Regions from separate parts of the Homo sapiens genome. Here regions 1 and 2 are each linked to region 3. The links are contacts of gene promoters, found by promoter capture Hi-C in blood cells and fetal thymus (Javierre and others, 2016). All regions are on one chromosome and are shown on one strand. Each heading gives the region's core, a stretch centred on a gene start or on the middle of the fragment in contact. The rest is flanking DNA. Distances are from core to core; before and after follow the strand shown. Region 1 overlaps UBR3 (ubiquitin protein ligase E3 component n-recognin 3). Region 2 overlaps UBR3 (ubiquitin protein ligase E3 component n-recognin 3). Region 3 holds the start of PPIG (peptidylprolyl isomerase G).

What was found. The method cuts DNA at HindIII sites, captures the fragments that hold promoters and counts their contacts. A CHiCAGO score of 5 or more calls a contact.
Region 1: a fragment that was not itself captured here is called in contact with the fragment with the promoter of PPIG in region 3 in 4 of 17 cell types (total B cells, activated CD4 T cells, erythroblasts and 1 more); the score reaches 5.6 in total B cells.
Region 2: a contact is called between a fragment that was not itself captured here and the fragment with the promoter of PPIG in region 3, in 3 of 17 cell types (fetal thymus, naive B cells and naive CD8 T cells). The highest score is 5.9, in fetal thymus.

What each region holds. Positions count from the first base shown.
Region 1 is chr2:169,874,856-169,877,912 of GRCh38, reverse strand. It overlaps UBR3 (ubiquitin protein ligase E3 component n-recognin 3), which reads right to left. Exons shown (of 39, transcript NM_172070.4): 3 at 1,964-2,122; 4 at 276-419. Among named protein-coding and RNA genes, the nearest start is that of UBR3, 49 kb to the right of the region's middle. The HindIII fragment of the contact is 2,586 bases long and covers 333-2,918 here.
Region 2 is chr2:169,842,116-169,845,392 of GRCh38, reverse strand. The region is part of intron 1 of UBR3 (ubiquitin protein ligase E3 component n-recognin 3); the gene reads right to left. Among named protein-coding and RNA genes, the nearest start is that of UBR3, 16 kb to the right of the region's middle. The HindIII fragment of the contact is 881 bases long and covers 1,456-2,336 here.
Region 3 is chr2:169,582,614-169,585,871 of GRCh38, reverse strand. PPIG (peptidylprolyl isomerase G) reads right to left here and starts at 1,521. Exons shown (of 14, transcript NM_004792.3): 1 at 1,382-1,521. RefSeq lists an enhancer at 1,556-1,605. The HindIII fragment of the contact is 789 bases long and covers 1,008-1,796 here.

The DNA.
Region 1 (3,057 bases), core at 376-2,875, 290 kb before region 3:
GGGCTACTCTTGAATAGCAACTGTACATTTTTCATGAGTTAGAACCAGAACCTTAATAAGCTAATCAAATTCCATTTAAGAAAAATGCATTCTCTTCTTTGGTCAATCTATTCTTTTTTGCCTCTAAATTTTTACTACTTTTATTACTTTTCTTAAAAAGAATAATACTGTTTTAGTTCAAAATAATTTTTTTCAATAATGAGTAAAGTTTGAGAGGTTTTTTTGGTTTTAATACAGAAAAGTTACAACTGTTCAAATTAAATATTTAGACAAACCTTGAACAGCCAGAGAACTAGTACCAGCAGATGGCTCCTGCACACCATATACAAGCTTATCCTCAGGATATGTAAGTCCAGAGCTCTTTAAAGCTATAAGGTACTTTTCATGACTTTTCTTTACACAAGCATTTTCTCCAAGACCTAATTAAAACAAACTTCAAATCAGAAAAAAATATTCCATTCAAAATCTCAGTATGGTCTTTTCATTAACTAGTATCTATAAATAGGTGAATATTCTAATGGAGTGGGAGCCCTAGAATGAATAATATAAGATAGCTTCAAATAACACTTTTGTGCTTATGTTTAGCACTAACAATCCGAGAATACACAGCATGTTTATACCAAATAATGAAATCTACAAAGTAGGTGGGCATCTAAAATATCCAAGGGAATGTGGGGCACAAGAATTAATAAGACATGATCCGAACTTTAAAGGAACCTGAAAATTACAGTAAAGAAAGTCAGAGAGGTAATATGGTAGATAATAATTATGTAGCGGAATTCACCTTCTGGTTTGACAGTCTGTGCTCTCGTAATACCAAGCATGCAGTTATCGAAAGCAGAGTGCTTGGGAAAGGCGTATGAATGTTTTGTATAACAATACACCATTCAACAATTCCAAGTTTTATAACTTAAGCTGTATATTAGAAAATCCTAGGCGATACAACACAAAAACTTAAAATATCAAAAGTGAAAACATAGACATGATGGTTGTTACTGTTAAAGAAAGGGGATCACTTCTCAGCCTTGCGTTTAAAGAAAGAGACGTAGGGCCGGGCGTGGTGGCTCATGCCTGTAATCTCAGCACTTTAGGAGGCCAAGGCTGGCAGATCACCCGAGGTCAGGAGCTCAAGACCAGCCTGGCCAACATGGTTAAAACCCTGTCTCTACAAAAATACAAAAATTAAAATTAGCTGGGCATGATGGCAGGTACCTGTAATCCCAGCTACTCGGGAGGCTGAGGCAGGAGAATCGCTTGAACCCAGGAGGCAGAGGTTGCAGTGGGCTGAGATCACGCCACTGCACTCCAGCCTGGGCAACAGAGCAAGACTCTGTCTCAAAAAAATACAATACAATACAATACAATACAATACAATACAATAAAGAGAGGCAGAGCATAATTATCATGTCACACCAAAAGTTAGGAGACCTAGGTTCCAGTACCAACTCCAACATAAATTAATTGTGAGGTTTAAACAGGCCATTTCATTTTCCTAGGGCTCAATTTCCTCATCCATAAAACAAGAAGTTCTCTTGCCAGGCGCAGTGGCTCACGCCTGTAATCCCAGCACTTCGGAAGGCCAAGGCGGGCGGATCATGAGGTCAGGAGATCGAGACCATCCTGGCTAACACAGTGAAACCCCGCCTCTACTAAAAATACAAAAAATTAGCTGGGCGTAGTGGCGGGCGCCTGTAGTCCCAGCTACTCGGGAGGCTGAGGCAGAATGGCGTGAACCCAGGAGGCGGAGCTTGCAGTGAGCCGAGATTGCGCCACTGCACTCCAGCCTGGGCGACAGAGCTAGACTCCGTCTCAAAAAAAAAAAAAAAAAGAAGTTCTCTTAATAACTTCCAGCTTTAGCATTCTATGAAAATTCTACAATTTACCTTTAAGTTCTAAAAGACTCAATTTCTTATCATTATAGTAAGATATGAAAACTATAAATTTCTTCTAACATTTTACTCACCAGAAGTCAGATCTTTGTAGTTTTGTTGGTTTGTCAAAACCTGAGTAAGAACAGACCGCATTGCTCCTCCCATTTTAGTCAGGTCTTCTAAAAAGGAAATTTGAGGTTCCAAAAGCTGAAGGACTTTGTTAAGGTCCTTTTCTGATGGTCCATCAGCTGCTAAAAGAAAAAAAGAAAAAAAATCAAATAAGGGTAATTTTGTTTAAAATATCTTACTAAAAATAACAGTATTTATTCTTTTAAAATTATAATGGCTTAAATTATAGTATTTTATAATCAAAAAAGTCAATACAAGAACTCTGTTTAGAAATTGGTATCTGCCCAGCACCTAGCCAAGCAAGGGTAGACTTGCTCAGGAATTCAGTCCTTTGGAAAACAGTAGATGGAAAAACACAGATGACCTCCTAAGATATGAAGCACTTAATTTGTGTAAGAAGCATTTAAATACAAAAAATTAACCAAGTGTGGTGGTGCGCGCCTGTAGTCCCAGCTACTCAGGAGTCTGAGGCAGGAGGATGGCTTAAGCCTGGAGGTGAAGGTGGCAGTGAACTGAGATCATGCCACTGTACTCCAGCCTGGGCAACAGAGTGACACCCCATCTCAAAAACAACAAAAAGAAGCAGCAGCATTTGATCTGTGGGCCCTATACTTCCACATATATAAATGTCATCATAAGATCATTTCAAAAAAAGATAGTATTTAAGAAAAAGTTTAGATCACATCCTAGAATAAAACAAGATATAATTCAAATACATTGAGAGTAGTATAAGAGTATTATGTCAAATTTAAACCTGTATAACAAATAACCTATCCCCTATAATATTCCAAAAATACAGATACATGTTAGCTGAAGGTCAAAGCAACTAAAGTGAAAGATAACTTTTCATAAATATGAATAATTGTATTAAAAACTAAAAAAAAAACAGGCAAATAGAGATGGAGAGAAAGAAAAGCTTGGACAACAACTGAAAAAGAATATTAAAGACGAAAAATATAGAGAGGTTTTACAGAAGCCGAGGTCTAAAAGGAAGGAAATGAATAAAGAGATGTATAGCTTAACCATAATTTTTTTAAAACAAAAACAAACAAATGAA
Region 2 (3,277 bases), core at 647-3,146, 260 kb before region 3:
GGAATGCAGTGGCGCCATCCTGGCTCACTGCAGCCTCTATATCCCAGACTCAAGTAACCCTCCTACCTCAGCTTTCTGAGTAGCTGGGACTACAGGCACACGCCACCATGCCTGGCTAATTTTTCTAGTTTTTATAAAGATGAGGTCTTAACATGTTGCCCAGGCTGGTCTCCAGCTCCTGAGCTCAAGTGATTCACCACCCTCACCCTCCCAGAGTGCTGGGATTACAGGCAGAAGCCACCACTCCCAGCCTTAAAAAACTCAAAACTTCTAAATGACCCATTGGCTAAAGAGGAGATCACAGAAAATAGAAGATATTTTGAACTGCATAAAAATGAAAATATATCAAAAATGTGGGATGCCTGTACACTGTGCTTAGAGGGAAATTTATTGCATTATATCTTATTAGAAAAGAAGACTACAAATCTAAGCTGCCACCTTAAGAAACCATAAAAAGACTAGGAAATTAAATTCAAACAAAACGAAGGAAGAAAATAATAAAGAGCAGATATCAATGAAATTGAGAACAACAACAACAAAAAATCAGTAAAACCAAAAGCTGGTTCCTTGAAAAAGTAACAAAAGTGATAAAAAGCCAGCCAGGCGCGATGGCTCCCACCTGTAATCCCAGCACTTTGAGAGGCCGACGTAGCAGATCACCTGAGGTCAGGAATTAGAGACCAGCCTGGCCAACATGGTGAAATGCCATCTCTACCAAAAAATACAAAACAATTAGCTAGGCGCAGTGGTGCACACCTGTAGTTCCAGCTACTGGGGAGGCTGAGGAGGAAGAATCGCTTGAACCCAGGAGGCAGAGGTTGCAGTGAGCCACGACTGCACCACTGCACTCCATCCTGGGTGACAGAGTAAGACCCTGTCTCAAAAAAAAAAAAAAAAAAAGAGAGAGGGTTTCACTACATACTTTACAGACATTGAGAAAATAAGGAGAAATAGTACAAACAACATTCTGCCCATAAATTCAACAACTTAGATGAAATGGACAAACTTCATGAAAGATTCAAACTGTCAAAGCTCACATAAAGAAAAAAAAGTACTGAATAAATGATACAGGTCACTAAAGAAATCGAATATGAGGCCGGGTGCAGTGGCTCACGCCTGTAATCCCAGCACTCTGGGAGGCTGAGGCGGGTGGATCGCCTGAGTTTGAGACCAGCCTGGCCAACATGGTGAAACCCTATCTCTACTAAAAATACAAAAATTAGCCAGGCGTGGTGGCAGGCACCTGTAATCCCAGCTACTAGGGAGGGTGAGGCAGGAGAATCAACTGAACCCAGGAGGCTGAGGTTGCAATGAGCCGAGGTCGCGCCATTGCACTCCAGCCTGGGCAAAAAGAGCGAAACTCAGTCTCAAAAAAAAAAAAAAAAGTAAAGAGAAAAAAGAAAAGAAATGGAGTATGTTAAAACCTTATTCAACAAATGTTACAGCTAAAAAGCTTCCAACAACAAATATTCCAAACCTAGATTGTTTCACGGACAAACTCTATCAAGATATTTAAAAAAGGAATAATGTCATATTCTACACAAACTCTTACAAAATAAAGAGGAGGGTGCCCTTCCCAACTCATTTATGAAGCCAGCTTTACCCTGAGACCAAAATCAGACAGAGATATTGCAAAAGAAGAAAACTACAGTACAATATCCCTCTTGACTACAGATACAAAAATCCTCATGTCAAAATACAAGCAACTTAAATCCAGCAATCTATAAAAGGATAATATATCATGACGTGGATTTTATCCCAGAAATGCAAGACTGGTTCAATAGTCAATAATTATTCCATGTGTAATACTACATACATGGTGTTATGGTTTGAATATGTTACCTCTCCAAAACTCAGGTTTGTAACTGAATCCCCACTGTGGTGGTATTAAGAGGCAGGGCCTTTGGGGAAGTGATTACATCATTAGGGGTCTGCCCTCTCAGATGGATTAGTGCCTTATAAAAGGGCTGGACAGAACTAGCTCAGGCCCCTTTTGCTTATCCACTCTTCCACCATATGAGGACACAAGATCTGCCCCTTTTGCTCTTTTCACCCCTTCCACCATGTGAAGATGCAGCAGAAGGCCCTCACCAGATCCCAAATATGAGTGCTTTGATCTTGGACTTCCCAGCCTTCAAACTGTAAGAAATAATTTCTGTTCTTTATTACTCAGTCTCAGGTATTTTGTTATAACAGCACAAAATGAACTAAGCCAGAAATTGATACGAAGAAATGATGTCGTTGCTATAATAAATACCTGAAAATGTGGAAGTGGCTTTTGAACTGGGTAATAGGTAGAGGCTGGAGTAGTTTTGAAGTGAATGCTAGGAAAAGCTTAGATTGCCATAAAAGAAGCATTAAGGATAGTTCCAGTGAGGGCTAAAAGGAAGAATGGAATGTTGGTAGAAATATGGATAGCAAAAGCCATTCTGATGATCTCTTAAACAGAAATGAGGAATATCGTATCAGAAACTGGAGGAAAGACCATTCTTTTTACAAAATGGCAAAAAAATTGGCTGAATTGTACCCATGTCCTACTGTGTCCAGAATTGGTGGGTTCTTGGTCTCACTGACTTCAAGAATGAAGCCGCGGACCCTCGCGGTGTTACAGCTCTTAAGGTGGCGTGTCTGGAGTCTGTCCCTTCTGATGTTCAGATGTGTTCGGAGTTTCTTCCTTCTGGTGGGTTCGTGGTCTCGCTGGCTCAGGAGTGAAGCTACAGACCTTCACGGTGAGTGTTACAGCTCTTAAGGCAGCGCGTCTGGAGTTGTTCGTTCCTCCTGGCGGGCTCGTGGTCTCGCTGGGCTCAGGAGTGAAGCTGCAGATCTTCACGGTGAGTGTCACAGCTCATAAAAGCAGCGTGGACCCAAAGAGTGAGCAGTAGCAAGATTTATTGCAAAGAGTGAAAGAACAAAGCTTCCACAGTGTGGAAGGGGACCCGAGAGGGTTGCCAATGCTGGCTAGGGCAGCCTGCTTTTATTCTCTTATCTGGCCCCACCCACATCCTGTTGATTGGTAGAGCCCAGTGGCCTGTTTTGTCAGGGCGCTGATTGGTGCGTTTACAATCCCTGAGCTAGATACAAAGGTTCTCCACGTCCCCATCAGATTAGTTAGATACAGAGTTTCGACACACAGGTTCTCCAAGGCCCCACGAGAGCAGCTAGATACAGAGTGTCGATTGGTGCACTCACAAACCTTGAGCTAAACACAGGGTGCTGATTGGTGTATTTACAAACCTTGAGCTAGACTTAAAGGTTCTCCACGTCCTCACCAGAGCAG
Region 3 (3,258 bases), core at 272-2,771:
TGTGTGTGACCGACACACACACACACTCACTCTTTTTTCCTGGTTTTAACTACTGAAAGTTAATATCAGGCCCCCCTAATTTCTAAAACATCTAATTGTTCTTTGGACAACTATGTTAGTACCAAACTATAAAAGCAAATACTTTTGTATTTGTGTTCACTACTGCAAAATGTTGGTTACACACAGAAAGGGCTATCGTGGAAAGAAATTAAAATCAATGCACAAAATGGTGCTTTTATAGCATTTCCAAAACGATTGTGCATACTCCTTGCCAGCACATCTAGACTTTGCTCCTTAAGACTAAACATGAGCTGGCCGTGCGCGGTGGCTCTCGCCTGTAATCCCAGCACTTTGGGAGGCCGAGGTGGGCGGATCACGAGGTCAGGAGATCGACCATCCTGGCTAACACGGTGAAAACCCGTCTCTACTAAAAACACAAAAAATTAGCCGGGCATGGTGGCACGTGCCTGTAGTCCCAGCTACTTGGGAGGCTGAGGCAGAAGAATCACTTGAACCCAGGAGGCGGAGGTTGCAGTGAGCCAAGATCGCGCCACTGCATTCCAGCCTAGGCGACAGAGCGAGACTCCGTCTCAAAAAAAAAGACTAACCAAGAACCAAATTAGCATACTTCCCCTTCAGGCATACTGAGCCCCGAAATCATCATCTTCCTCCTAAAGAGTAATTATCTCCTCCTAAAAGGCCTGCGCAGCTCACAGCTCCTCCGAAACACGGGGGAACTTCGCGAGAGCTCAAGACCCTGGACTTGAGTTTTAGAAAAATGCTTAACAAAGTGGCCTCTGCCACTTAACTGCACGACAGCCACTGTGCTGTGAGAGGAAAAGGTCGAAAGAGGAGGAAAGCTAGTCTTCAATTTTAATCCCTGTGATTCAGGCTCTTCGCCCGTCACTCTCCAACCCTAGCCTGACAGGACGTCAGGCTGTCTCCCCCTTCCCCACCAGTCCCGCCACCTACCCCGCAACAGTGCTGAGTCTTAGGATTTTGAAGCTTTAAAAATCAACCCGGCTCCCTAGAGTTCAGGCCGCAGTCGCTGCCGCCATGTTACAGCTTGTGCGGCAAAATGCGTCAGTGAGGGAGGTGTGCGCCTGAGTGGGGAGGGCGGGGGCTGGCAGAGGAAGGACCGTCCCCAGGCCCCGGGGCTCGACTGCAAGCCTTCTCCTTCTGCAACAGCGGCAAAGGCACTGCTGCGGTCCTCAGGGACTTCCTCTGGGCCCAAGCAGCCCCGATACCTCGAGGGAAAGACGGTAAACCCAACCCGGTCAGCCGCGCCGGCTCCGCCCCTCTTCCCAGGCCCTTCCCGCTTTCGTACGCAGGGACTGCTGAAATGACGCCGCCAGAACAACTTGAGCCTCATACCACTTACCTGCACCGGTAGAGTTTTCCTCTTCTCTGGGTCCGGTCCTTTGAAGCGCTTCAAATCTACCGCCGCCAGAAAAGGCGCTAAAGCCCGCTAACCGCCTCCCTCCCCCACAACTCAGTCCTGGCATGGAGAGACAGCGTCGCACCGGAAGCGCGTCAGGAGTGGGTTGTCAGCATCGGCCAGCGTTCACCTGCTTGCGTCACCACGCCCTCCTAGGACTTCTAGGATTTTGGTGCCTTTTAAATTCCTAGTTTATAGGTGGCCTAATGCTTTGTGGATGCGTTGACTGGGAACGCTTGTAACCGTTAAAATGCCATATCCTTTGTGAAGTAAAGTGCCTCATTTAATAAACATTTATTGATCTTACGCTAGGTTATCAGAAAGGAAGGCCTACCTTCATGGAGCTTCCAGTTAAGCTTCCACTTAACGCTAGGATATAAGTTCTAAAAACGCAGTAATGAGCAAAGTGTTATTTGAGGAAAGAGGAAGAAATTACAAAGAGCTTTGATGTTCTTTGTTGTTTTACAGATAAAGAAATTGAGGCTCAGGGAAGATAAACGCCTCCTCCTCAAACACACTGTTCTTGAATGCCAAAGCAAGTCTTTTGATGCCAAATCTAGTGCCTTCTAGAGAAAATATGGCATATATTATTTAATTATTTTAAGGGGCAAGGGTCCCCGGATTATGTTAGAAATAAATAACCATTGCTGTTTGGGCGGGGGGGTGGGGGGGGATGGGCAGTGATTCTGGTAGGGATGTGGGGTGTGTTTTAAAGGAACTAGCTAACTAGAGGACTTAAATTGTTCTGTCGTTTAAAGGCAACGTAAATTATGATCATTTAAATTTTTCACTCACTTGCATCAGGTAAATTAATTATCAACAACAGTTAGGCATGTGGTGGTGCTTCTAAGGGGCGTGACCAGTTTTACACAGCAGTAAAACAGAGGACATTTCTGCCTCTCCACCCCCACCTCTTTTAAGTCATTGCCCTTTATTGCAGGAGAGCAGCAGCATATTCATCTTTAGATAGTTCAGAGATTAAACGGATTTACACTTCGCTGTGTGTGGAGGGGACAATTCTGCAATACCTTAAAACAGGGGTCCCCAACCCCTGGGCCACAGACTGGCCTGGCTAATTTTTTGTATTTTTAGTAGAGACAGGGTTTCTCCATGTAGGTCAGGCTGGTCTCAAACTCCCAACCTCAGGTGATCCGTCCTCCTTGGCCTCCCAAAGTGCCGGGATTACAGGTGTGAGCCACCACGCCCGGCCAACGCTTTTCGAAAGAAGACATACTTGCAGCCAACAATCATAATGAAAAAGCTCAACACCACCAATCATCAGAAAAATGCAAATCAAAACCGCAGTGAGATACTATCTCATACCAGTCAGAATGGCTATTATTAAAAAGTCAAAAAATAACAGGTGCTGGTGAGGTTGTGGAGAAAAAGGAACATTTTACAGTGCTGGTGGGAGTTTAAATGAATTCAACTATTGTGGAAGACAGCGTGGCGATTCCTCAAAGACCTAGAGGCAGAAATACCATTTGACCCAGCAATCACATTACTGGGTATATACCCAAAGGAATATAAGTTGTTCTGTTATAAAGACATACACATATGTATGTTCATTGCCACACTATTCACAATAGCGAAGACATGGAGTCAACCTAAATGTCCATCAATGGTAGACTTGATAAAGAAAATGTGGTACATATACTCCATGGAATACTATGCAGCCATGAAAAAGAATGATCTCATGCCCTTCGCAGGAACATGGATGGAGCTGGAGACCATTATCCTTAGCAAACTAATGCAGAAACAGAAAACCAAGTACCACATGTTCTCACTTATAAGTGGGAGCTAAATGATGAGAACACATG